Regions from separate parts of the Homo sapiens genome. Here all the other regions are linked to region 1. Evidence: promoter capture Hi-C in 16 types of primary human blood cells and fetal thymus (Javierre and others, 2016). All regions are on one chromosome and are shown on one strand. The core of a region is centred on a gene start or on the middle of the fragment in contact, and the rest is flanking DNA. Distances in the headings are between cores, read along the strand shown.

Region 1 (5,599 bases), core at 16-2,515:
TTTATTAAAAAGTACTGGGTATCTCATGTAATTTATTGAATACTGTACTGAAAGTGAAAAACAGAATGGCTGTATTGGTACTCAAATATGGCCTCTACTGACTGTGTATGGATTTCACACCATCATAAAGTCAGAAGATTGTTGAACCACCAGAAGTTGGGGACCTTCAGCAGAGATGTGTGATTGTTGCTTTCCAAATGTATCTTCTATTACTTCCCTATATGAACATTCTCCTCCTTCTGGACTGCTTTATTGTAAAGTAACAAGGTTTCAACGCACAAAGAAAAGGTGAATTCTGACTTCTGGATTCTGTTATTGTCATTTTTCCCAATTTCCTTCTGTAAAATATCAAGATTAGTACTTGCTGTTTCTAATAAAGGAAGGAGCCGAGAAAGGCAAATCTACGAAAACCTAACTACTAGTTACATTTGAGAGTGCCTAAAAAACTTTTTAGATAACGATTAGCAGTATTTACCAATAGAAACTTTCTAGATTTGGATGGATGGCCTACCAGCAGTACCGATATCAGAGTCTGTGGCAATGGTGACTCAGTGTTCTTCTCAAATACCACAACTTCTAAGTTAAAAAGAAAGAGAAAGTGGTGGGGAGGAGAAGGAGGGAGGAGATATACTAACAATACTGGCAAACAGGGAATAGCAACTGTCTGATTTTTTCCCCTCTAACATCTAGCACACTACAAGCTCTCAAAAAAGTTTGTAGAGCAAAGCTGCGTTACACAAATGCGACCTATAGTTGTGGGCTGTTTACTAGGCAGTTACAAGGGCGGGGGCTGGGGGAGATGAGGAGTCTGAGAGCTCTGGGCTCCCAGAGGTTACCCGTCAAGGAAAGGGTCGCCAGCGCCACCCCACAGAACGTTGCACTTTCACGGCTGCCTTTTCCACTTCTGCGCCAAGTAAGGGGAGGAGGTCTGGGCCTGCTGGGGTCTAAGGGATGGAAGGGCGCAAACCGAGCTAAGAGGAGCAGGATGAAGCCGAAGCACTGCTAGTGGGACTAGTGCCGGGCCCCGGCGACAGTCACGACCCACCCAAACCCCGTGACTCGACAGATTATGGCGCCTGAGGCCGGCCTCAGCCCCACGCTGCCGCCGCCGCCGCCACCGGGGACGGGTTGGGAGGCGACTGCCTGTTTCTGCCGAGCCACGGTCCCGAGCCCGCGTGGAACTCCAGCCGCCCGGGTACCCACTCACCATCTTCCGCAGCTCTGCGAACAGCCTCTCTGCCCCGTTACCGTCAGTCGACCCCGCCGCTCACTTCCGTTTCCGAGGGCTGGCCCCCACATCCGCCGGAAGTGCGTCCGTCCTGGCGAGGAAGGAAGGAGGGCGCGGGACGCCGGAGGGAGCTGCGCGGGGCCGAGGCTCCCACGCTTGCAATCCCAAGGGACCCAGGGCCAAGGGCGCAGTAAGGGTGTGGGCTGGGAGGAGGGAGGGGTCGGGACGAGACGTGCCTGAGGGGAGGGAAGACACGGACTCCGGTTTATTAATAAACATCTACGGTTTGTACGGCATTTTAAGATGTGCAGTGTGCTTTTGTAGGTACATCGCCTTATTTAACACAAAACCTCTCTGAGGTAGCTATTACATTTCACAGAAGGGTAAACGAGGCGTAGGTGGTTTGAGTGATTTGCTTGAGATCGTTCGGCTAATAAAGCAAAATTGGGACACAAGGCTTTTGTCATTTTTAAAAAACATAATATTGAAGGCCTGGTATGTTCCGAACCCTGTGCTGAGGCTAGGAATACAAAAAAGGACCAGGCCGGTGTGGCCTCTGGGCTAGAGGAGCAGGGGTACTCCGGAGGCTAGAGGGGAGAGAGGGGACGATAGTGACTACAAATTAAGTAAATGTGATCATGACCGACATATGTTGGGCCCTTTGAATTGCGTTATCAACACAGTTCTAAGTGCTTACATCCTTTATCTCTTTTAATCTTTTCAATAACCTTACAAGTACAATTTACAGGTGAAGAAACCGAGACATGAAGGGCTTAAATAAATATGCCTAAGGACATATTTATGAGTCTAGAATCCATGCTCATTACACTATTCTGTATTGTTCAAATATAATGTAATAAAACGGCCTTATAGTCTGCTGCCACAGGATGGAGACATCTTAGGGAATCTTTGGACTGACAGCTAAAAGATAAGAGCGAACTAGTTTGGGGTAGTAGGATATTTAAAACAACATTACGTGCAGATCTGCTTGTGCAAAAACGGAACTGGAAAGAAGGCCTAAGTCTGGCTAAAGTTCAGAAAGTAAAGTGGAGAGTACTGTGAGATGAGGTTGTAAGTAGATGGAGGCAAGTGGTTTTTGTTGTTGTTTTTGTTTGTTTGTTCTAAATAATGATAGGGTTTAGCTATGTTGCCCAGGTCTGCGTTGAACTCCTGGGCTCAAGCGATTCTCCTGCTGCAGCCGGCTGAGTAATGGGAACTACAGGCGTGCATCATGGGACCTAGCTACAGGTTTTTTATGCAGCCTTTGTAGGCAAGATTAAGGATGAGGCTTTGTCTTTAAAAAGCCATCGAAGGATTTGAGAGAGGAAAATGATAAGGCCATATATGTTATGTATATCCACTGCCATGGTCATACAACTTTGAAGTTCCAGATGTTATGTGTTCTGCCATGCTGTCCTTTAGGTGTCTTCTGGTCCTTCACAATAGCCATGTTTAATCCTGAGATTTGAGTTGGAGTGTTTCGTTTGCATCTTTTTTTCTTTCCGTCAATTCCACCTGAGAAATTGTAAAACTGCGAATCTTTTCTTAAAAATCATTTTAACATTTGCTGATTGCTCACAGTTCAATGAATATGTATTGAACATTTGCTTGGTACTAGATTCTGGAGCTATAAAGAAGAAAAGAGCAATTCCCTGTACCTGAGATGCTTATATATTTTCCTGGGGAAATAGACATGCAAACAGATATTTAAAATGCAGCATGGGCTGGGTGCAGTGGCTCACACCTGTAATCCTAGCACTTTGGGAGCTGGAAGCAGGCAGATCACTTGAGGTCAGTAGTTCGACACCAGCCTGGCCAACATGGCAAAAGCCCATCTCTACTAAAGATACAAAAAAAAAAATTAGCCAGACATCATGGTGCATGCTTGTAGTCCCAGCTATTCAGGAGACTGAGGCACGAGAGTCGCTTGAACCTGAGAGGTAGAGGTTGCAGTGAGCAGAGATCACGCCACTGCACTCCAGCCTAGGTGACACAGCAAGACTCCATCTCAAATAATAATAATAAAATAATAAAATGCAGTGTGATAAATGCTTGATAGAGAAAGGGGCTAAACCAGAAAGTTGTTGGGAGCAGGAGAAAACAGCATTCACGGAAGAGGAACATGTAAAGGCAAGAGATCTGTGAAAAGTCGTGTTGTTATCTGAGTAATGGAAAACATTTCCCTGTGGCTGGAGCTCTGGGTGAGCAGGTGAAGCAAAATGAGATGAGGTTGGAGGGACAGGTTGGGGCCAAAACGAAGGGCCTTCTATGGTATGCTGAGGTTTAGGGCTTTTTCTTATAGACAACAGGAGATAATGGAGGTCTTTTCACAAACATTTGGCATTAAAAAAAAAAAATTCTGGTGGCAGCATGAAGGACAGACTAAGATTGGGAGAAAGTAGGAACCAGGATACCATTTAAGCCACTAATGGTACGCTAAGGTAGTGTCACATACTGGAAAGGCTTTGAAAGGAAGGAAAAAGTAGGAGTGAACCTAAGAAATACCAGAATTCAAAAGACAGCCAGAAGAAGGGGAGCCTGCTTTAAAGGCTATGCCATCTTCGAATCAAAAGGGCAAGGAAGTATTGAGAGGTTAGAAAGTAGTTCAAAAGTAGCTAAAAAGGGATCATAAAGCCCTGAAAATAGGCTTTTGGTGACCAGTGTGAAGAGTTGTTTTAGTGGCTCAGCAAGGAGAAAATTCCCTTTATTTTGAGTCTTACACTCAAGTTTATGTCCTATTTTAAATGGTTTGTTACAGTATTAACTAATACGGGGTACTTTTGAGTATGCTAAATAAGAAGTAAATTAGATTTGATGCTGGAATGATTTAATTATGTTTACTTAAGCTTTATGTTAAATAGCTTAGAGGATAGAACATTAGTAATGATAGCTAACATTTGTTACATGTCAGGCCAGGGTTTAGTTTTTTGCATATATTGTTTCAATTAATCCTGTGAGGTAGATACTATCATTATGCACATTTCACAGAAAATGCTGAGGCATTGTATGAGAACAAGCACCCTATTTTGTTTTACTTTTTGTAGTCGTCTTTGACTTTACTCTTAAGTCAGTCTGGTGACATAGCTAGGTAAACTGAGGACAAATTCAGCTTCATTCACATCTGGCAAGAACCCTCCTCCCTCCTCCTAGCTCTTTCCCCATTTGTTACCTCATCTGTCTCCTGTTTGGGTACTATTCTTGTACTTCATCTTGTCAGCTGAATTTGGGTCTTCTGACCTAAATTTTAGTGCTCCCTAACGATCTAAAATTACACTTAACTTTGCTCTTTTCTGTTATTTGCCTAAGCTTGGCCCTGGGCACCCAAACCCTATTACCCAGCCTGCTTGGTTAGCCCCCTCTTAAAAGCTGCTTTGTCTCCACAGCACAGTGCCTTGCATACTTTAGGCAGGTACTCAGCAGGATTTTGAAATCTAGTATGTAGTGAGTGTCTCTTTAGAACTTAAGAAGCTGGAAGAGGCATAGAGAAGAGAGGTCTGAAAATGTCTCAGAGCTAAGGAAGATACGATGTTGAGATAAGGGAATGACCAGTGATGTCAGATAATGATTATGGGAAGATCGATGGGGTTTGGCAAATGGGATGTCATTTGCATAATCTTCTGGTGAGCAGTTTAACTATAAACCAGATTGTTAGGAATGAAGAATTTATAAGAAGAAAATGGAGGCAGCCAAATTTTATAGATCATTCTTTTCAGAAAGTTGTCCATTTCAAAAAATAGAATCAGGATTTTGGTTTGAATGAAAGTTGGGTTTTGTTTTTGTTTCATGTGCATGATTGGACAGACCAAAGTTTGTTAGGCAGATGTTAGAAAGAGTTGGTGAAGGGGCAAGAGTGAAGACAGCAGGGAAGAGAAGCAGCAAGAAGGAATGATTGAGATAATGATCTCTCAGATGCCCAGAACAGTTGTGAGAGGGAATCAAGGACAAAGATGCAGCTGTTAGAAAAAGGAGGCAGGCCCAGGCGCAGAGACTCACTCCTGTAATCCTAGCACTTTGGGAGGCTGAGGCAGGTGGATCACCTGAGGTCAGGAGTTCAAGACCAGCCTGGCCAACATGGTGAAACCCTGTGTCTACTAAAAATATAAAATTAGCTGGGCATGGTGGTGCACGCCTGTAATCCCAGCTACTCGGGAGGCTGAGGCAGGAGAATCACTTGAACCCAGGAGGTGGAGGTTGCAGTGAGCCGAGATGGTGCCACTGCACTCCAGCCTGGGCGACAGAGCGAGACCCTGTCTCAAAAAAAAAAAAAAAAAAAAAAAAAATTATGCTTCCCTACAAGGCTAGGGGTGGAGGAGTAGTTCATATAAGGGTAGTGGTATTATACAAATCTTAAACAATAAGAAAATTACTAGG
Region 2 (5,585 bases), core at 1,052-3,551, 560 kb after region 1:
TCGGCCCGCGCGCTCGGGTGCTGGGCCGTCCGTGGGAGTCTGCGGCCGCGAACTCGGCGCCAGGTGGCCAAGGACCTCTCCTGGCCCGGCCCTTGGATACTGTAGACACCTGGGTGTCGTCTTTAACTCTTCTTTTGAGGTTTTGATTTATGGAGGGAACTCTGATGGGAAAATGCGTCCGCGTTCTCCCCTAGAGCGAGTCATCCTCAATAACGATACCCCCCAGCCCCGCCGAATTTTGGTTGGATCAACGAATAGTTTACCTAGGAAATATTATGCAAACAGATTTACATATTAAAATACTAGCTGTCCCTTTCTTCTAGTCTCTTCTTATCCTGGCATAAACCCCAAAGGGGTTTTCAAGGACTCCGAGGACTGTCCCCAAAGAATCTGCTGGGTAGCATAGTTGTTATTGAAAAAAAAAATCTTCCCATCGGTTCGCGTCAGCTTTCTATTTGGAAAGATGAGAGGACTGAATCGAATTTGGGTTGAAGGCGACAGAGTTCTGGGTGCCCGGCAGCTCCGGTCCCTGTCCTAGGTCTGCAACCTTGGGACTGACACTCACCTCCCCCGGCCTCCGCGTCCTCATCTGTGCAGTGAGGGAGTCCGTCCGAGTCCCCTTCAGCTCTGAAATGCTAGGACTTGAAGTCTCTGTGGTAAATAGAGAAAATGCTTGCAATATAGAAGTGCAGGAATTATATCCAATAGCTTTTGTTACAAATAATTCTGAAATATAAAAAGTAAAAAATGGAAATCGGGGGAAAAGAGTTGAAAAACAAAGACATTTTAGTTCTTAAATAGTTATCTTTACTAGTTAGTAAATCTGTAATTTCAAATGTGTAGTACAATATGTTTTCCAGATTCCGTTAATACAAAATGTTAGCTTTCTATTATGTATGATATTAAGTAGTAAGTGCATTTTTCAGAAGCATAATGGGCTTTCTAAAGGTATAAGCATCAATACTTGCAACGATATTTAAGCTGCATGGAATTCTTTTCTATTTAGGAAAGAATTCAGAAATTTCTATGTCTCTCTCTCCAGATATTTCTAAATGAAGTATAATTGGCACACAGTAAATATGCACACATCTTAAGAGTACAATTTCATTAGTTTTCACATATGTACGTGCCCAAATAACCACGATCAGACTGAGATATAGAGCAATTCTAGCTCCACCCTCTCTGTCAGTACCCCCTCCCCAGGTAGCCACTATTCTGACTTCTGATGCCATGGATTGCTTTTGCCTATGTTTGAACTTCATGTAAACCAAACCATCATCGTGTGCTCTTTTATGTCCACCTTCTTTTACTCAACATTATAATAATAAGATTCAACCTTGTTCTCTGTAGCAGTGTTTTTTTTTTTAATTGCTGGTACCATTCCGTGGTATGAATAGATCTTATAATTTATTTTATCCATTATGTTCACGAAGCACATGGAAGTTGTTCCAATTTTGTGTAATTATGCATAGCACTGCTGTGAACATTGTTTTATATATGGTGGACATAAACACCAGTATAAAGGATTATGCCCACAAGTAGAATTCCTGGATCATAGGGAAGGGATATGTTCAGGTTTGGTAGATACCGTCAAACGGTTTTCCACAGTGGTTACACCAATTTCCACTCCCACTAGCAGTGTATGGCAGTTCCAGTTCCTCACATCTTTGCCAATACTTTGTATTATGGATTTTCTTGAATAAAGAAGGATAAAGTGAGAAGCTTAAACATGAGAACTTTAAAATGGTTAATAGCCTTAAATTCTTTGAATTAGAACATGGGATCCCAATTTCCCTTATATTGTAAACACTACTTTTTTTTTTTTTTTTTTTTTTGAGACGGAGTCTTGCTCTGTCACCCAGGCTGGAGTGTAGTGGCGCGATCTCAGCTCACTGCAACCTCCGCCTCCCAGGTTCAAGCGATTCTCCTGCCTCAGCCTCCTGAGTAGCTGGGATTACAGGTGCGTGCCACCGCACCCAGCTAATTTTTGTATTTTTAGTAGAGACGAGGTTTCACCATGTTGGCCAGGCTGGTCTCGAACTCCTGACCTTAGGCGATCCACCCACCTCAGCCTCCCAAAGCGCTGGGATTACAGGTATGAGCCACCACACCCGGCCATGCCCAGACTTCTATTCATCATTTATGAATAATGATGAAGCTTTCTAAGTGGCATTTGAAGGAGAGGAACATGTTCCCAATGGGCTTTTCTGCATTATCTGCTGATACTGGACAGAGAGAAGTATTTCAATATTTTAAGAGCTATGATACTACCTTTTTCATTAGTGTTAAAAAAAATTCGTATTCAAAGCCTTGAACTGCACATTTGAGTTGCCATTCTTTGCTCTTGTTGCTTATCTTAGTTTATTTGCCTTCTTGGAAACTCCTAGCCCAAGGGGGAATGATTCAGGAGAAAGTGGAGGGAAGGGACACTCAGCAAAGCTTGGTTTGGATTGGATGTGAGCCCAGACCTGCCGACCTGACATTAATGTCCCCTCTGACTCTGAAACTCTAGTTCTAATTTTTGCCATTATATAGGTGTAGATTGGATATTCATTTCTTTTTAGGTACTTCACGTCTATCTATAGTAAATTATCCTCTTAGGTTTAATTGTGAACTTCTTGCCTTACATTAAAAATGGATTAACTTTTTATAACTAAGAAGGCACTTTCAGTAACTCTTAGCTATTGGTAAATATTTGTTATTGGATTCTCCTGTTGTTTAAACTGAAAAACAATCAGGCAATGAGATATTAAATGGGAAGGAGGAAGACTTACTTATATTCCAAGGGAAGACTTCAGATAAGAAAAATGAAGAGAAAACATGCATTAGGAAGAAAAAATCTGTTTTTATTTAACAAACTTTAATTGAATACCCATTTTTTTCCTTCCTTCCTTCTTTCCTTCCTTCCTTTCTTTCTTTCTTTTTCTTTCTTTCTTTCGACAGTCTCCCTTTGTCATTGAGGCTGGAGTGCAGTGGTGTGATCACAGCTCACTGCAGCTTCAACCTCCTGGGCTCAAGCAAGCCTCCTACCTCAGCCTCCTGAGTACCTGGGACCACAGGCACGTGCCACCACACCTCATTAATTTTTTGAAAAATTTTTTGGTAGAGATGAGATCTCACTGTATTGCTCAGGCTAATCTTGAACTCCTGGGCTCAAGTGATCCTCCCAAAGTGCTAGGATTACAGGTGTGAGCTACCGTGCCTGACAGAATACCTATTTCTTGCTAGGCACAAGCAGTACAAAGATTAAAGAGATGGAGGTAGGGGAACTTGTGTATAAATAACCAATTTTATTTTTTTAAGAAATGTGTGGTCATTGCCTTTCCCCAGGAAAAGTATTTCAGTATGCTTTCTTTTATTAAACCTTCCAACACAGTTATTATGATTACTAAATATACATTAAAAATTGCATGAGTCTGGCTGGGTGCGATGGCTCATGCCTGTAATCCCAGCACTTTGGGAGGCTGAGGCAGGCAGATCACTTGAGGAGTTTGAGACCAGCCTGGCCAACATGGTGAAACCCTGTTTCTACTAAAAATACAAAAGTTAGCCAGGCGTGGTGGCAGACGCTTGTAATCCCAGCTACTTGGGAGGCTGAAGCAGGAGAATCACTTGAGCCTGGGAGGCAGAGGTTGCAGTGAGCCAAGATTGCGCCATTGCACTATACCCTTGGTGACAGAGTGCGACTCCATCTCAAAAAAAAAAAAATTGCATGCGTCAATGAAGGAAGCTTTAGCCTGGTCAGAAAAGGGATCCCAGTTTTTTGCCCCCTAAAACTACTTTTTAAATTTTTTTTGAGACAAGACCTGGCCCTATCACCCAGGCTGGAGTGCAGTGGTACAGTCTCGGCTCACTGCAACCTCTGCCTTACGGACTCAAGCAAGCCTCCTACCTCAACCTCCTGAGTTGTGGGACTACAGGCATGCACCATGACACCCGACTAATTTTTGTATTTTTTGTAGAGATGGGGTTTCACTGTATTGTCTAGGCTGGTCTTGAACTCCTGAGCTCAAGCAATCCTCCTGCCTCAGCCTCCCAAAGTGCTGGGATTACACATGTGAGCCAGTGCGCCCAGCCTAAAACTACTTAAAAATGGAGATATAGTACTGTATTTAATGCTTATGGGAAAGAAAATGCTCTTCCATTTAAAGTAAAAGGAACAAACTGTTCCAAAGCTAAATATGGTCATCTTTTAGGTCTTGGGAAGAAGCACTTTTCCAAATCATTCTTTAAGCAAAGGTATTGACCACATTTTACTCTGGGAGGGTATTCCTGCTCATTTGAGAAGCCCACAAAATGCCTCGGCTTCAACAACATATCCACGGTTCTTTGTGTTCCTCTCATCTCATCCTTGCATGACACTCGGCAAGCAGGGTGACAGTAACTAACCCCTATCATTCAAGTTCAAGATTACAGTCTTGCTGCCTCCCCACATACCTACCAGACATTGCCTTAATCTTTGGGCAAAGATTTTGATTTGACAAAAAGCAAATAATCTCAAGAGTATTGTATTTTATCATTTTTCTTAACTTTGAAAGGGATCTTGTAGATAACAGGAGTAAGAATTTGGAGAGGGGGCCGGGCAAGGTGGCTCATGCCTGTAATCCCAGCACTTTGGGAGGCCAAGGTGGGCAGATCACGAGGTCAAGAGATCAAGACCATCCTGGCCAACGTGATAAAACCCTGTCTCTACTAAAAATACAAAAATTAGCTGGGTGTGGTGGCGCACGCCTGTAGTTCCAGCTACTCAGGAGGCTGAGGCAGGAGAATCACTTGAACCTGGGAGGTGGAGGTTGCAGTGAGCCGAGATCATGCCACTGCATTCCAGCCTGGAGACAGAGCGAGACTCCTTCTCAAAAAAAAAAGAGAGGGGAAACTGAAGGGCTGGAAATTGGCTTAGCTTGGTCTTGACACTGTGCTGTATCCTTTATTCCCTCTGAAATAGCAAATTCTTGTGAACTTCACAGTAGGTGGTTTGTCTGAGTAGAGCTTTTTGGTTTTTTGTTTTTTCTTATATACCCAGACTGCTCACCTGCAAGCTTTTTGGTTTTTATCAGGAGACTTTGTGATCTTAAGATGTTTTTCTATGACTTCCAGAAAAGCTGTATCCACTTCTCAGGTAGTCACAGTTATAGGGTCGAAGATTTTTCTGTCTTTGGGGAATCTGCGAGTTTTATACCTAAGTGATTTAGTTATTCTTGGTTGATACTTTCTATGGCTGCATTATCAGTGGTTTTGAAGTAATGAAAGCTTTTGTAGAAGTCACTACTGGTCACTAATTTGACTCACGCAATTCTGTTCTATGAGTACCAACACATGTGAAGGAAATTTTAAAATAATATAAAAGTAGGCAGAGTGCAGTGGTTCACACCTGTATCCCCAGCACTTTGGGAGGCCTAGGTGGGAGGATCACTGGAGCCCAGGAGTTCAAGACCAGCCTGGGCAATACAGCGAGACCCAGTCTCTACAAAAAAATTTAAAAATTAACTGAGCGTAGAGGCACATGCCTGTAGCCTCAGCTACTCAGGAGGCTGAGATAAGAGGATAGCTTGAGCCCAGGAATTTGAGGCTGCAGTGAGCTACGA
Region 3 (4,970 bases), core at 1,713-4,212, 530 kb after region 1:
ACTTTCAGAAAAAGTGAGATAATTTGTCACTAGCAGATGTACACTATTCCAGATGGAAGGAATCAAGAGCAATTGAGTGAAATATGTGGGTAAAAAATTAATATTGACTATAAGACAACAGTGTCTTGTGGAGTTTTAAATAGATGTAGAATTAAAGCACACAAAAACATCAACATATAAACCATCAGGTATAAATCAAGGACCGCAAAGTCTTTGTATTTTAAAAAAGTAATAAAAATGGTTATTTATCTTAGACTAAAGTAAATCAGAGATACATGTTATAATTTCCAGGGCTACTAATATAATAGCAAAGTAAAATAATAAATAACCTCATAGAAGGGAATGGAACAATGAAGTACTTAATCGAAAATGAGAGGACAGAAAACAGAACAGGGGGAACAAATAGAAAACAATTAGATTAAAGTCTGAATACACTAAATGTAAACAATCAAGCTTCAGTTAAAAGGCAAAGACTTTCAGGTTGGGGTAATAGAATAAGAAAACTGTGTATTAGGGTTCAATCGGAGAAGCACAACCACTATGAAAAACAAAGAATGAGGGGTTTATTGTAGGATTAGATTTGACACCATAATAGTAACTGGTGGAGGAGTCTATGCTGTGTTATTGTCAGCATCTAGTGCAGAGCTGAAGCCGCTATGGGTCAGCCTAACCAGTAGTGTGGAAGGAGTACTGGATATGAACAAGAACATGGGCAAAGGGGAATCTAAAAAGGACAACTGGAATTCCTGAGGACAAACTAGAACACACGTCTATTTCTCACTGACATCAGCAGTTGCCATGGCATTGCACATACTCTTGGCCCATGAATTATAAAAACTGAAGGAAAGATCCTCAGGCCCGTTGCCTCCTCACTCCACTATCAGATCAGTGACAACCTGTGCAAGTTGCAATAGTGCCTGGTACGCTGCACTGGCTACTGCTTCACTTCTGCCTTCCAAATTGCATACAAAGTCTTCTTGTCTTCAACAGTGATGAAGAACTGTACTAGGAAAGAAATTCTGGTAAATACAGTTACAGTTTAGCTAATTTCACATAGTACAAAGCCACCACAGTCTACATCTTGGCATCTATACACACTTTTTCTGTAAACATTCTTAACTGACAATAACAAAGTCATGTTTCCAGCTAAGATGATCAGTTTCCTTCATAAACTTAAGCAACCCTTGCAGGACAGGAGGATATAAAGTCACTCCTAGCTGAATCACACTATAATGATCCTGTAATGTAAATCCTATAAGGTTAATTACCATTGGCACAAAGTATATTCGATGGTAGAGGAGTGGGGAGGGAGAGAAAAAAGATGTTTAATATACAAAAACATATTCAAAAGAAGAAATAACTATTCCAACCCTCATTTCTGCCCCTTATTCACATGGTCAAAGCTGTTTATTACAACAGGTCCTTCAATAATGTTTAGTTATAACATTAATGAGAAAAATTCTCTTTCCAGCTGGTGCCACTGTCGATGTGGAGTTTTCATGTTCTCCCCATGTTTATGTGGGTTTTCTCCAGGTACTCCAGTTTCCTCCCACATCCCAAAGCGGTGTACAGGAGGAGAATTGTTGCAGCTACATTTTCCCAGTCTGAGTGAATATAGGTGTCATGTGAGCATGCCCTATCATAGAATGGCCACCTGTCTAGGCGATTCCCGCCTAGAGCTCTGAGCTACTGGGATGGGCTTCAGCCACCCATGGCCCTGAGCTAGAATATTTGGGTAAATAATTATCTTACTTATTTTTATTAATATTTCTTAAATGTATGTATAGCCCACATTTTTTTCAATGTTTAATATTAGAAGTGCTTTGGTCTTTATTTAGAACTTTGTTGATGTTTTCATGACCATAAATAGAGTCTGATTAAGGGATTTAACTCTTGTTTATATCAGCCTCTGGTAAAATTGTTTTCTTCATACATCATTTCACTGAAAGGTGTAGTTTCCAAGAACCTGTTGACAACCTTAAGTTAGGACTTACTGTACTTCCTTCTTCCACTATCTATGCCATGTTTCCTTTGCCTTCAGCAGCCACCCAGGCTTTCATGATTCCTATCTGGTGAGGTGACCCACATCTTCATTTTTAAGGGTCTGGGTTGTTAGCAGTCCTGTCTGTAGGGGATAGTTATAGTTTGACTTTAATCACTGGGCAAGGGAGTACTGTGAGATGCCCCAGGGGACCTCATACATTCCAGACATACTGCTTACCTAATTGTGTAATAGTGATCTGATTGCTTCTTCTTTTTTGAGACAGGGTCTCAGTCTGTCACCCAGGCTGGAGTGAAGTGGCACAAATCATGGCTCACTACAGCCTTGACCTCCTGGGCCCAAGTGATCTTCCTGCCTCAGCCTCCCAAACATCTGGGACTACAGGTGTATACCACCTCACCTGGCTGATTTTTTTTTTTTTTTGTAAAGACAGGGTCTCACTATGTTGTCCAGACTGTCCAGTTTCTTCTTGATAGGATTAGTCACCCCAGCTACTACAATAATTTCCTTCTTTTATTTACTGTTTCAGAAAGCTAAATATGGCTAAGTGCAGTTTCAACTCCTAATTCAGTGGCTCAATTAACATGTGCCCCCTTTACTAGTGGAAGCAAGGTAATCAATACCTTTAAACCTAATTAGATTAGAGAACTAATTCCAGAGAATCCAGAAATAATACAGACAATCCATCTGTAAGGTTCTATTCCACTTCTGGCTATCCACTGCTGAATAACAACCCACCTCGAAACATAGTGGCTGAAAACAATCATTTATTTCTGCTTACAGATTATTTATTTCTGCTTACAAGTCTTCAATTTTGGTAGTATTTGGCAGCAATGGCTTATATCTGCCCCATGCAGTGTCACCCAGGGCAGCTTGTCTGGGAGCTGAGAATCCACTTTCTTTCTTTTTTTTTTTTCTCTTTTTTATTTTGCCACATCTCACCTGAATGGGAAGCCACTTTCAAGATATCTCAGGCATATGGTTGACAAGTTGGTGCTAGTTGTCATATGCTAGATCACCCAGGGCTGTGGGCCAAGGCCTCAATTCTGCTCCACCTGGTCTTCAATATGGACTGCTTGTGCTCCCTCACAGCACTGTGGCTGGGTTCCAAGAGTGTCTGAAGAGAATCATGCAGAAACTGCATGGCCTTTTCTAACTGAGCCTGAGAAGTTACACAGGGTCAACTCCACTATAGGCTATTCATGGAAGCAGGCACCTACCTACCCAGACTCAAGGAATAGGGAGTTTAACTCTATCTTTTGATGAAGATGTAGTTTCTAGAAGAGCATGTGGGATGGGGACATACTGTTGAGGCCACCTTTGGAAAATAAAATCTACCACAGTATGCTACCTTAAAAATAAGGAATCAAGAAAACAAAGGAAAAAGCTGGTAAAAATGTATAATATGAGCACTAACAGCAAGAAATACTCCTAGAGATAAAGAAGGACTTTTGTTTTCTTTATTTTTGAGACGGAGTCTCGCTCTGTCGCCAGGCTGGAGTGCAGTATCTCAGCTCACTGCAATCTCTGCCTCCCGGGTTCAAGTGATTCTCGTGCCTTAGCATCCCACGTAGCTAGGACTACAGGCGCGTGCCACCACGCCCAGCTAATTTTTGTATTTTTAGTAGAGATGGGGTTTTACCATGTTGTCCAGGGTGGTATTGATCTCTTGACCTCGTGATCCGCCCACCTCAGCCTCCCAAAGTGCCAGGCCTGTGAGTCACTGCGCCCGGCCAAGAGGGACATTTTATATTGATAAGTTAAATTCACCAATAAGATTTTAACAGTTCCAGGCCAGGCATGGTGGCTCACGACTGTAATCCCAGCACTTTAGGAGGCCAAGGCAGAAGGATTGCTTGAGCCCAGGATTTGGAGACCAGCCGGGACAACATGACAAAACCCTGTCTACAAAAAATACAAATATTAGCCAGGCATGGTGGTGTGCACCTGTAGTCCCAGCTACTCAGGAGGCTGAGGTGGGCTGATTGAGCCCAGGAGGTTGAAGTTGCAGTGAGCCGTGATTGTGCCACTGCATTCCAGCCTGGGCAACAGAATGAGACCTGGTCTCAGGGGGAAAAAAAAAAGTGCATATTTGCTTATTTATTTTGAGACAGGATTTTCCCCAGTTGCCCAGGCTGCAGTACAGTGGCAAGATAATAACTCACTGCAGACTTCATCTCCCAGGCTCAAATGATCCTCCCACCTCAACCTCCTGAGTAGCTGAGACTACAGGCACACGCTACCACACCCAACTATTTTTTTTTTCAGCAGAGAGGAGATCTTGCTATGAATTTAATCTTTTTTTTTTTTTTTTTTTTTTTTTTTGAGACAGAGTCTTGCTCTGTTACCCAGGCTGGAGTGCAGTGGCATAATCTCAGCTCACTGCAGCCTCTGCCTCCCAGGTTCCAGCGATTCTTCTGCCTCAGCCTCCTGGGTAGCTGGGATTACAGGCGCCCTCTACCATGCCCGGCTAATTTTTGTATTTTTAGTAGAAACGGGGTTTCGCCATGTTGGCCAGGCTGGTCTCGAACTCCCAACCTCAGGTGATCTGCTGGCCTCAGCCTCCCAAAGTGCTGGGATTACAGGCGTGAGCTACCGTGCCTGGCCTTTTTTTTCTTTTCTTTCTTTCTTGCGTGGTGTGTGTGTGTGTGTGACAGTCTCACTCTGTCTCCCAGGCTGGAGTGCAGTTGTGCAATCAAGAATTTAATCTTTAAAGCCACTTCTAAAATAGTGAAGAGTGGGAGTGGGTTATGAACAACACATATAACCAGACAACATGTAAAGAACTCCTACAAATCAATAAGAAAATAATAAGCACCCCAATAAAAATTAGTAAGAGATTTGAAAAGGCATTTCTCAAAAGATGATATGAAAGGGCTGGGTATGGTGGCTCATGCCTGCAATACAGCACTTTGGGAAGCTGAGGCAGGAGGATCCCTTGAGACCAGACCAGGCAACATTGTGAGAC
Region 4 (5,670 bases), core at 840-3,339, 590 kb after region 1:
TTTAAAGCAGATAAAGCTGGGTGTAGTGGCTCACACCTATCATCCAACAACTTGGGAGGCCAAGGCAGGGGGATCACTTGAGTCCAGGAGTTTGAAGTCACTGTGTGCAACATAGCGAGATCCTGTCTCTTAAAAAAAAAATTAAAAAGAAGAAGCAGATGATGAAAGCTGAATTATAGTTGGGGGTTGAGAAAGCTGAGAAGCAGCCTGCTTTTCATTGCAGGACCCCACAATAGTATAACTTGCCAAGACCAGCTCGCAGGACACAGGCAGCAAGCAAGAGAGAGAATCTTCTCTGGGGAGTCGGACCAACCGGTGAGAAAAGACCTAAATATACACCTACAGAGATTGAGCCACAAGCCACATCATAGAGCTTAGGATAGACGCTCAGCACTTCATTCTTATATGTGAAGAGACTGTCAAAGATTGTCAGTCATTTGGGGAAAATATCTAAATCATGGGCAAACAGAAAGTAAAGAGGAGAGAAGGAATCAAAGAAATAATTCAAGAAAATGCCAAACAGAGGGATATGAATTTCTAGATTGAAAAGGCCCACTGAGTACCCAGCACAATGGATGAAAATAGACTCTCAGGAAGGCACATAATTTTGAAAATTTTAGTGCTGTGGTTTCAAAGAAAAGATTCTATAAGCACCCATAGAGAAAAAAAGAATATACCAGGCCGGGCACAGTGGCTTACACCTGTAATCCCAGCACTTTGGGAGGCAGAGGCGGGTGGATCACCTGAGGTCAGGAGTCCAAGACCAGCCTGGCTAACGTGGCGATACCCCGTCTCTACTAAAAATACAAAAAAAAAAAGAAAGAAAATTAGCCAGGCACGGTGACGGGCACCTGTAATCCCAGCCACTCGGGAGGCTGAGACAGGAGAATCACTTGAGCCTGGGAGGCGGAGCTTGCAGTGAGCCAAGAACGCGCCACTGCACTCCAGCCTGGGCGACAGAGCGAGACTCCATCTCAAAAAAAAAAAAAAAAAAAAAGGTAGAAATCTATATACAATAAAAAGTGCACACACACACACACACAAATCATGTATACAAATAATCATTTCCTCAGTCAAACTAGCCTCATTTCAAAAGCTTAAGAGCCACATGTAGCTAGTCGCTACCATATTAGACAGCACAGGCATAGAACATGTCCATCACTGCAGACTGTTTTATTGGACAGCCCTGCTCTAAGTATCTCTGCTCCTGATTTAAACTAGACTAAACTTGCATAAAATCAAATTTCCTACATACTTTCATAGTGGCCAATTTCCTCTGATTACACTTTGTTTTGTTGTTTGGTTGCAAGATAAATGCATGTTTTCTTTTTAAGGTGTGCATGTATCAACATTATCATTTTTATTTTGTTTTACAGTTGTTTTTTCTGCAATGATATTTGGGACTATTACAAATCAAGATCTGCCTGTGATCAAGTGTGTTTTAATCAATCATAAGAACAATGATTCATCAGTGGGGAAGTCATCATCATATCCCATGGTAAAGTAACATTAAAATTATACCTTTAGCTGTTTTTCTCTAGAGAACGTAATTTGTAAGTTATTGAAGCCTACCATGGCTAAATGGGCTTCTCTTTATGTATTTAAGTATATTATGGCCTCACATCTGGTACCAACAGAGCATCTATACTCCTAGCTCCCTGGCACTCCATTCCTTCAAGAACCGTATTCTTCATATGAGGATTTAGGAAGGACACTGATTGATAACTAGCATGAAGTAATGAGTAGAGTCGTCCCTTGGTATACAGCGGGGATGGTTCCAAGACTCTCACTAATACCAAAATCCATGGATACTCAAGTACCTGATATAAAATGGCTTGGTATTTGCATGTAACCTATGCAGATTCTGTATATTTTTGAGACAGTCTCATTCTGTTGACCAGGCTGGAGTATAGTGGCATGATCATAGCTCACTGCAGCCTCGCCCTCCCGGGCTCAAGCAATCCTCCCACTTCAACCTCCCAACTAGCTGGGACTAAAGGCACATGCCACCACACCTGGCTAATTTTTTTTATTTTTTGCAAAGATGGGGTCCCACTCTGTTGCCCAGGCTGATCTTGAACTCCTGGGCTCAACTGATCCTACCACCTAAGCCTCCCAAAGTGCTGGGATTACAGTCCTCAGCCACCATGCTTGACCCTCCTGTATACTTTTAAAATTATCTCTAGATTACTTATAATACCTAATACGATGCAAATGCTTTATAATACCTAAACAACTATGTGAATAGTTATTATACCCTATTGTTTAGGGAATAATGATGACAAGGGAAAAAAGTCGGTACATGTTCAGTACAGATGCAACCCCATTTTTTTCGGAATATTTTCAATCTGTGGTTGGTTGTATCCATGGATGCGGAACCCATGGTTACAGAGGGCCTACTGTATTTCCTTTTCTCCTTAAAGAGAATCCTGGCTTTTCTTCCAAGCCTGAATCCCTCACTTCCAGCTGCCCCCAGTATATAGGTAGATTTTCCATTTGCACATCAAAATCCACCTATGTCATTTATTTTATTTCATTTCTATTTCCCCAAGCCTGCTCTTATTCTTGTATTTATTGATTTCTGTTTATACCCCTGTTTAGTTCCCAGGCTTGAAAGCTCAGCATCATTTTGGACTACTTTCTTTCTATTACTTTCACATTTGGTCAGTTACCAAGTGTTGTCGATCCCCTTTAGGAGTTCTCATATAATCATCTCATATTCTCTAGTCTCACTGCCACTTCCCTAAGTCAAGCCCTCGTTAACTCCCTCATAATCACAGTGATATCCTAAGTGGCCTCTTCCTGCTACAATTCATCTCAGAGGTAGCTGCTGGGCTAGCCTCCCTGAAGCAGGCACATCCTTCATTGCCTGGCTCTGAACCCTCCATGATTTCCCATTACTTAGACTGATACCAAGATTGCTCAGTAATCTGGCTCTGGCTCCTTCAAGTTCCGACTTTGTTTTTCATGACTCCTCTCTTTTACGCTGTTCGTCTTGTTTTTCATTACCCCCTCTCTTGTGCTATTCCTACCCCTCTATTTTAAAAACATATATTTAGTAAATTTACTCAAGGGAAGCTTAAGTGATGGAGAACTGAAAATAGTAGAAATCAGCCAGGTACAGTAGCTCACACCTGTAATCCCAGCACTTTGGGAGGCCAAGGTGGGTGGATCGCTTGAGCTGAGGAGTTTGAGACCAGCCTGAGGAACATGGTGAAACCCCGTGTCTATCAAAAATACAACAACAACAAAAAAATTAACCAGCCATGGTGGTGTGCGCCTGTGGTCCCAGCTACTTGTGAGGCTGAGGCCGGAGGATCATCTGAACCAGGGAGGTGGAGGTTGCAGTGAGCCAAGATTGTGCCACTGCCCTCCAGCCTGCCTTGGCCTCCCAAAGTGTTGGGATTACAGGCATGAGCCACTGCTACTGGCTGATATATATCTCATATATATATATGATATATATCATAGATTTTTTTTTTGTAGAGACGGGTTTTGCCATGTTAGCCAGATGGGTCTCGAACTCCTGACCTCAGGTTATCCGCCCACCTTGGCCTCCCAAAGTGCTGGGATTACAGGCATGAGCCACTCACTGCACCTGGCTGGGAATCGCGTTTCAACATGAGCTTTGGAGGGGACACACATCCAAACCATATCACCAACTATTCCATATTCTTCAAATTTGCTTTTAAGAGATGACTATACTAAGGCACCAAGTATTCACAGCAGCTGAGTGAGATGTACTGTTTTTTTTTTCCTGTCAGTGATTAGAGAGCATAGGCAGGCAATCCACCATAACTCTAAAATTATCTCTCCTTACCAAATAGGTTCATTTATACCTCCCTTCCTCCAGAAAGTCAAAGCTGCATTTAATGTCACATTCCTCCTGAACAGATCTTGTGCCATTGCGGCACAGTCTAAACAAAACAAAACAAAACATAATAAAAACAAAAATAATAAAAACAAAAAGTCTCCACTATGGTTTAATGACTGGTTTTCTCTTTGTGAAGAACTGAAGTTACTGGAGTTGACCAAATGTGTTTGACAATCATGACCTCATATTTCAGGCAGGTGGCCTGCACAAGCCAGCTTATTTTCTTTATTTGCCATGTCCCACCCTGTACTTCTAGAGAATGAGTTGTTGATTTGTTTGTTTGTTGGTTGGTTTTCTGTAACAAGGATTTGGGAAAGAATGGTGGACTTTGTGTGATGGATCATTTTACGTGCTTTCTCTGGACTTTTCACAGCTTGTGCAGCTGTTTTACTTACGTAAGCAGACAACAACTGTGTTAGTGATTTCATGTCCTCATTAGTTAGCTATACTTGTTATAAGAAGATCAACAGACTGAATTTCAGTGTTATTACAAAAGTTGTATTTTTTTTTAACATTGTGATTTTGAGATATCACAGTCTCTTAAATTCCAGTGCCTTCATGGCTCTGTGGGACTCAGCTCTGCCAGGTGGTGAAGAACGTGGCCTGGCCTTCAAGAACATCCCTTGGCTCCTGGTCAGCCTGGCTCAAGCTATTCCCGGACTGCCAGCGGTGGAGCCCACTGCCTCTGTACTGTGCATTTATCATGCTATTCTCTCTCCTCTGAAGCCCGCAGATTTGTCTATCCAGATTGTGGATTGTACCCAGCTTTAATTTTTAAAAACTTTTTACAGGGGCTGGGCACGGTGGCTCACGCCTGTAATCCCAGCATTTTGGGAGGCCCAGGCAGGTGGATCACCTGAGGTTGGGAGTTCGAGACCAGCCTGGCCAACATGGAGAAATTCCGTCTCTGCTAAAAAATACAAAATAAACCAGGCGTGGTGGCGCATGCCTGTAATCCCAGCTACTCAAGAGGCTGAGGCAGGAGAATCGCTTGAACCCCAGAGGCGGAGGTTGCGGTGAGCTGAAATCATGCATTGCACTCCAGCCTGGCAACAAGAACGAGATTATGGATTTCTGGCAAGAATTTCCCAGGAGCGTGCCCTTCCCAGAGCATCATATTCAGAGTGACAGGAAGTCATTTGGTGTCATTATGAAGATGTGAACCTTGATCATTAGAGTTAGACAGTGCATGCCAGGTATCCCCACTGCAAAGTTACTATTTTCTTCACTTATAATTAATAAGTGTCTTGGAGGGGATGCAAATATCCTGTTCCTTCTTTAATTTTCACCTACTGATTTTAGCACCCATTGGTGGATCTTGCCTACGATTATTATGGTGGTGTTTGCCTAATGGTGCTTTTCTTTTTCCTACATTCCCTCTATGTTAATTGGAATGCTTTGTAAGGAAGCACTGCCCCTTTCCCCTCATTTTATTTATGTATTTATTCAATTTTTTATTTATATCAGTAGAGGCCCATGAATATTTATTTTATCCTCTGGATTGTAACCCAATACAATCATTATTTATTTTGTTGCTCAAATTCTTCCAGCTTTGGCCATTAGGAACTACTTCAGTTTTGCTCCTGTGTCCTTTCAACATCTCCTCATCTTTTTCCAAGCCCTTCCTTAATTTTTGACACACTACCAGATAGTTCAGGTTCATCTTGTATTTTTCTTTTCTTGCCTTACCCCTGGAATTCAGCACTTCTCCAAAGAGCACTGGCTTCTCTGGGGGGTAGTATTTAGGAACCAAGATCTGAGAGTTGGGTGTGCCCATTGCTGCTGGGATATCATTG
Region 5 (5,072 bases), core at 402-2,901, 610 kb after region 1:
GCAACTACTTTGAGATGAGTACCTATTCAACAAACAGAACTATGATACGGATTCTGTTTGCTTTTGTATCATCAGTGGCAAGAAACGACACCGGATACTACACTTGTTCCTCTTCAAAGCATCCCAGTCAATCAGCTTTGGTTACCATCGTAGGTAATGCAGGCTGCTCACACAATCTTTATTCCTATTTTTAGTCGCTGTAGTGTGGAATGTGAAGTATGTGGTACAAATTCTGATTTCAATATAATGCTACTATCAAACACTAAGAAAGAAACTGAGTTAGAATAGCTTTGCAAAGATAATCTGCCCACCCTCTTCCTTTTCCCGTTAAACCAGGCTCGCTTGAATGCCACTGTCTTTGCATATAACACATTGTAATATGACCATCTGTTTGTGTACTTTTATCCTCCAGTAGACTGTAAGTTTCTTAAGGACAAGAACAACTCATTCTATCCTTGTAGTTCCAGAACCTGACACAGAGCCTGACACAAAATGGACAATAAATACTAGTTCTAAGAACCAACTAACCGCACTGTTAGGGCAGTGAGCACTGAGAGACAGTACAAGCCCTTAGATGCACTGAAATTTTGGTGGGGTATGTAGGATCTGAAAATAACCACAGTTCAATAATCTCAGATTAGGGCACAGCGTTCAGCCATAATGAAAATGCCGAGAAATACAGCGATGCTCTTAGCAGATTAATAAGGAAGTGTTCCATAAGGCAACCTCGTGAATATTGCTAGCCAGATCGCTCTTTTATTTGTGCCTTGAGTTTATTTTACTCTCTCTCATCAATGGAAGAGTGGTGCTGGCTGAGAGCAGGGGCCAGACAGTCAATTATCTACATCCCATTCTTTTTCTTTCCTTCTTTCTTTTTTTAAACATTTCTTAACTTCGAAAGATGATGAGCTCAGGCTTAGAACTAGGGATAGGACTCCTGGGTTTTCACTTGGATTATCCAACCTGACCTGCAGCATGCCAACACTTGAGTTTTCCTGTGTTAAACTGATGAATACAAGTTTATTTTATCTTCTCAATACGTTTCCCTATGAATATTATTAACTAACTCATAAATGCCTATTTTTTCTTACAGAAAAGGGATTTATAAATGCTACCAATTCAAGTGAAGATTATGAAATTGACCAATATGAAGAGTTTTGTTTTTCTGTCAGGTTTAAAGCCTACCCACAAATCAGATGTACGTGGACCTTCTCTCGAAAATCATTTCCTTGTGAGCAAAAGGGTCTTGATAACGGATACAGGTGAGACCACAAAGGACTCTAAGATACCATTTTTAGCATAATTCTCCTTGCTTGTCGCCCTTGAGAAGGACAGTTTTATACTTATGGAAGCAAATTCACTTATGAGTTTAACTATTATTGAGTTGAAATTGGAGATAAGAAAACAATAAGCAGATGTGAGGATACAGTAGCAGTCTTACCATTACTTTAGATAATATAACCTGCTGCATGAAAACAGAAAGAACCGTATTAGTCTGGTCTAGTTTGAGTCTGGTTCTCTGGCATTTTCTGAGTCACAAGGTAGTTTTTACTTCCTGTTTGAGAGTGCGGTGTGTAGGACACTGAGTCTCCCCTAAAACATTTGCAGATGATTGAGGAAGTAAAACTCCTTAAAAACAGAAAAACATTACTCATAGGTGTATTGATTTAAATTTTCAAAAAATACATGCAGAAATAGCCCAATAGTAAGTGCTGAAGGAAAATGTTGTTTTCCTCGGGATTTGTATGAGAAACTATGCAAGATTCTTTTTTTTAAGAACAACAAATTTTCTTTTCTTTTTCTTTTTCTTTTTTTTTTTTTTTTTGAGATGAGGTCTCACTCTGTCACCTAGGCTATAGTGCAGTGGTGCAATATTGGCTCACTGCAACCTCCACCTCCCAGGCTCAAGTGATCCTCCCACCTCAGCCTCCCAAGTAGCTGGTACCACAGGTGCACACCACCACACCTGACTAATTTTTTGTATTTTTGGTAGAGACAGGGTTTTGCCATGTTGCGCAGGCTGGTCTCGGACTCTTGAGCTCAGGAGATTCACCCTACCTGGGCCTCCCAAAGTGCTGGGATTACAGGCGTGAGCCACTGCACCCAGCCGAAAGATTCTCTTGTGGGAGGAATTCTCCATTCCTTCTTTGGAAAACAAAAAACAACTTTCCCCTATATCTTCTATAGTTATGACATCTCTTGTCTCTTTAAACTAATGCTATGGAACATGGTTTTGGACTAGGCTATGAGACACTGAGACGCACATGTTATCTTTCAAACAAGTCAATGGACTAGAATAAATCATCCTTTCTCAGCATGTGGTCTGTTGAACAACTGTGTAAGAATCATCTGAGCAAATGTTTAAAATGTGGATTCCTGGCTCCCATTCCAGACATGCTGACTCAAAACTGGGGCAAAACGCTCAGACTCTGCTTTTTTAATGAGAACCTTTGGTGATTCCTATCACAGGTCTAGATCTGTGCTGTCCGGTACGGTAGCCACCAGCCACATGTGGCTATTGAGAGCTTGAAGTGTGTCTGGTCCAAATTGAGATGTACTCTAATTGTAAAATACACACTAGATTTTGAAGACTTAGTATGAAAAAAAGAATGTAAAATATATTATTAATAATTTTTATATTGGCCGGGCTCGGTGGGTCACACCTGTCATCCCAGCACTTTATGAAGCCAAGGCGGGTGGATCGCTTGATCCTAGGAGTTTGAGACCAGCCTGGATAACATGGCAAAATCCCATCTCTACAGAAAATACAAAAATGAGTTGAGTGTGGTGGTGTACACCTTTAGTCCCAGCTACTTGGGAGGCTGAGGTTGGAGGATTGATTGAGCCCAGGTGGTCGAGGCTGCAGTAGCCATGATCACGTCACCGCACTCCAGCCTGGATGCAGAGCAAGAACCTGCCTCAAAAAGAAAAAATAATAATAAAATTAAAACAATTTTTACATTGATTATATATTAAAATGATAGTATTTTGGATATATCGCATTCAGCGAAATATGTTATTAAACTTAATTTCACCTGCTTCCTTTTACTTTATACAGCCAACAGAATTTGTAAATGATGTACAAGGCTTGAAGTTGTGACTCACATTCTGTTTCATTGGCTAGCCCTGTTCTAGATGAAGAGTAGGAGTTCTTTTCACCTTGATTCCGCTAAGTGTTTGTTTCATGATTATTGTTACTCTTTATACCTAAAAGGGATTTGTACTAAAAGTCCCTTGTTGGGACTTTTAGAATCTCAGTGCAGGGTTTGCATGGAGTTGTCTACTGTCTCTTACTGAAACCCCCCAATGTTCAGAGCATTCATTTTTAAAGTAATTAAGAATGCAGACTGGTCTGGGAGCTGACTGAAACACACTCCCCCAAACTCAGGGTTTGTCAACAGTGGCGCTGCTGGCATGTTGAGCTGGATAATTCTTTGTTGTGAAGGACTGTCCTGTGCACTGTAGGATACTTTTCAGCATCCCGGGTCTCCTCCCACTGGATGCCAGGAGCACATTCCCTTTTCCCAGTGTGACCAAAAATATCTCCAGACACTGCCAAATTGAGAAAAATAACCCCTGGCATTTTTTTTTTTTTTTTTTTTGAGAACCATTGCCTTAGAGGCATCAACCCACAGTCATCGTAAGCTGTTATTCAGAAATATCAAGCTTTTTTTTTTTTTTTGAGACAGAGTCTTATTCTGTTGCCCAGACTGAAGTGCAGTGGCACGATCTTGGCTCACTGCAAGCTCCTGGGTTCAAGCAATTCTCCTGCCTCAGCCTCCTAAGTAGCTGGGATTATAGGTGCATGCCACCATGCCCAGCTAATTTTTTGTATTTTTAATAGAGACGGGGTTTCTTCATGTTGGCCAGGCTGTTCTCGAACTCCTGACCTCAAGTGATCCAACCGCCTCAGCCTCCCAAAGTGCTGGGATTACAGGCGTGAGCCACCGCGCCTGGCCCATCAAGCTTTTAAATGTAGAAGGTTGGAGAGTCAGCCCCTCTTTACCCTAGTTGACTTGATTACCACTTGGCCTGTGTTCAGAAGGAAATCAGCATATCACTGTCCCCTCTCTCCTTTGTATCCTATCCCCATGTTAGATAAGCTCTTAGCATTATGGGAATCTCTTCTGAACCTGATTCAAAGAGAGAAGGGGTCGATTCAATTTAGTTCAACAAATATTACTTTAATATCCTCTTGATGGGTGTGATGCTGTGATGGGCTGCAAGAGTGAATAAGGTAATGTTGCTTTCCCTCTCCCGCAAGAATGTACACAGATTGCTACTGTGCTGGTGATATCTGGTATAACCTTTTGAGATTTTACAGAATCGCCAGTTGGGGACCATGTCACTGACATATGGGTCATGGGCCAATGTAGTGGGCTGCTTCATGTAGTTTCATTCCATGGCTACAATCCATACCCATGACCCCAGATTGTTATCCTATAGAGGTAGCCAAATGAATGAATTAGGTGAGCTCCTGACTCCTATAGCGTTTTGTACCTCACTCATTCCTACTTATCTGGCAACAGATAAGTATGTATGTCACATCTCACCAGGGAGTTTATAAACTCTAAGAATAGGTATGCTGCCATATTTCTCTATCTTTGTACAATGCCTTGTTCAGTAAGTGTGTTTAATAAATGAATGAATTCATCATCATATCTGGAATGCAACTCACAGTGCAGTCTGGGCCAAAGATGAGTCGACAGCATCCTCTTCACTGCAAGGACCATGCACATGGTTCTTAGCACAACACCCAGTACTCAGTGTTTATTGTTATTTGAAAGTTCTTGAAGAGCTACAGTGTTTGTGCTAATGATGTGCATTGTTGGTACTGATAATGTACCAGGTGTTATGGGCCACTGACGACACACAGCAAAGGAAAGATGGGCCCTCCTTCTTCATGAGAAAACATGCTCAAAGTACTGAACAAGAAACGAACAACACAAAATTTGAACACGCCTCTGAGTGCTCTAAATGTCTTTTTCTCTCCACATGAGGCTCTATGTTGAGATGGGGATGGAGGACTAGATTATAGTCAGGGGTAATTTCCACTTTTCTTTGTTTTTGCC

Evidence for each region. Contacts are between HindIII fragments. The CHiCAGO score rates a contact against its expected background, and 5 or more counts as called.
Region 2: a fragment that was not itself captured here is called in contact with the fragment with the promoter of POMP in region 1 in 1 of 17 cell types (fetal thymus); the score reaches 5.3 in fetal thymus.
Region 3: a contact is called between a fragment that was not itself captured here and the fragment with the promoter of POMP in region 1, in 4 of 17 cell types (naive CD8 T cells, total CD8 T cells, activated CD4 T cells and 1 more). The highest score is 7.0, in naive CD8 T cells.
Region 4: a contact is called between a fragment that was not itself captured here and the fragment with the promoter of POMP in region 1, in 3 of 17 cell types (endothelial precursors, megakaryocytes and fetal thymus). The highest score is 6.3, in endothelial precursors.
Region 5: a fragment that was not itself captured here is called in contact with the fragment with the promoter of POMP in region 1 in 1 of 17 cell types (megakaryocytes); the score reaches 5.4 in megakaryocytes.

What each region holds. Positions count from the first base shown.
Region 1 is chr13:28,654,796-28,660,394 of GRCh38, reverse strand. POMP (proteasome maturation protein) reads right to left here and starts at 1,265. Exons shown (of 6, transcript NM_015932.6): 1 at 1,208-1,265. The coding sequence starts at 1,210. RefSeq lists a silencer at 1,333-1,392 and an enhancer at 1,613-1,772. The HindIII fragment of the contact is 5,788 bases long and covers 1-4,076 here.
Region 2 is chr13:28,094,565-28,100,149 of GRCh38, reverse strand. All of the region lies in intron 1 of FLT3 (fms related receptor tyrosine kinase 3), which reads left to right. Among named protein-coding and RNA genes, the nearest start is that of FLT3, 3.2 kb to the left of the region's middle. The HindIII fragment of the contact is 281 bases long and covers 2,161-2,441 here.
Region 3 is chr13:28,126,350-28,131,319 of GRCh38, reverse strand. No RefSeq gene overlaps it. Among named protein-coding and RNA genes, the nearest start is that of PAN3, 9.7 kb to the left of the region's middle. The HindIII fragment of the contact is 5,013 bases long and covers 456-4,970 here.
Region 4 is chr13:28,066,319-28,071,988 of GRCh38, reverse strand. FLT3 (fms related receptor tyrosine kinase 3) reads left to right here. Exons shown (of 24, transcript NM_004119.3): 2 at 1,377-1,498. It also overlaps the pseudogene KATNBL1P1. Among named protein-coding and RNA genes, the nearest start is that of FLT3, 31 kb to the left of the region's middle. The HindIII fragment of the contact is 1,982 bases long and covers 1,099-3,080 here.
Region 5 is chr13:28,044,465-28,049,536 of GRCh38, reverse strand. It overlaps FLT3 (fms related receptor tyrosine kinase 3), which reads left to right. Exons shown (of 24, transcript NM_004119.3): 8 at 1-153; 9 at 1,094-1,262. Among named protein-coding and RNA genes, the nearest start is that of FLT3, 54 kb to the left of the region's middle. The HindIII fragment of the contact is 4,034 bases long and covers 1-3,668 here.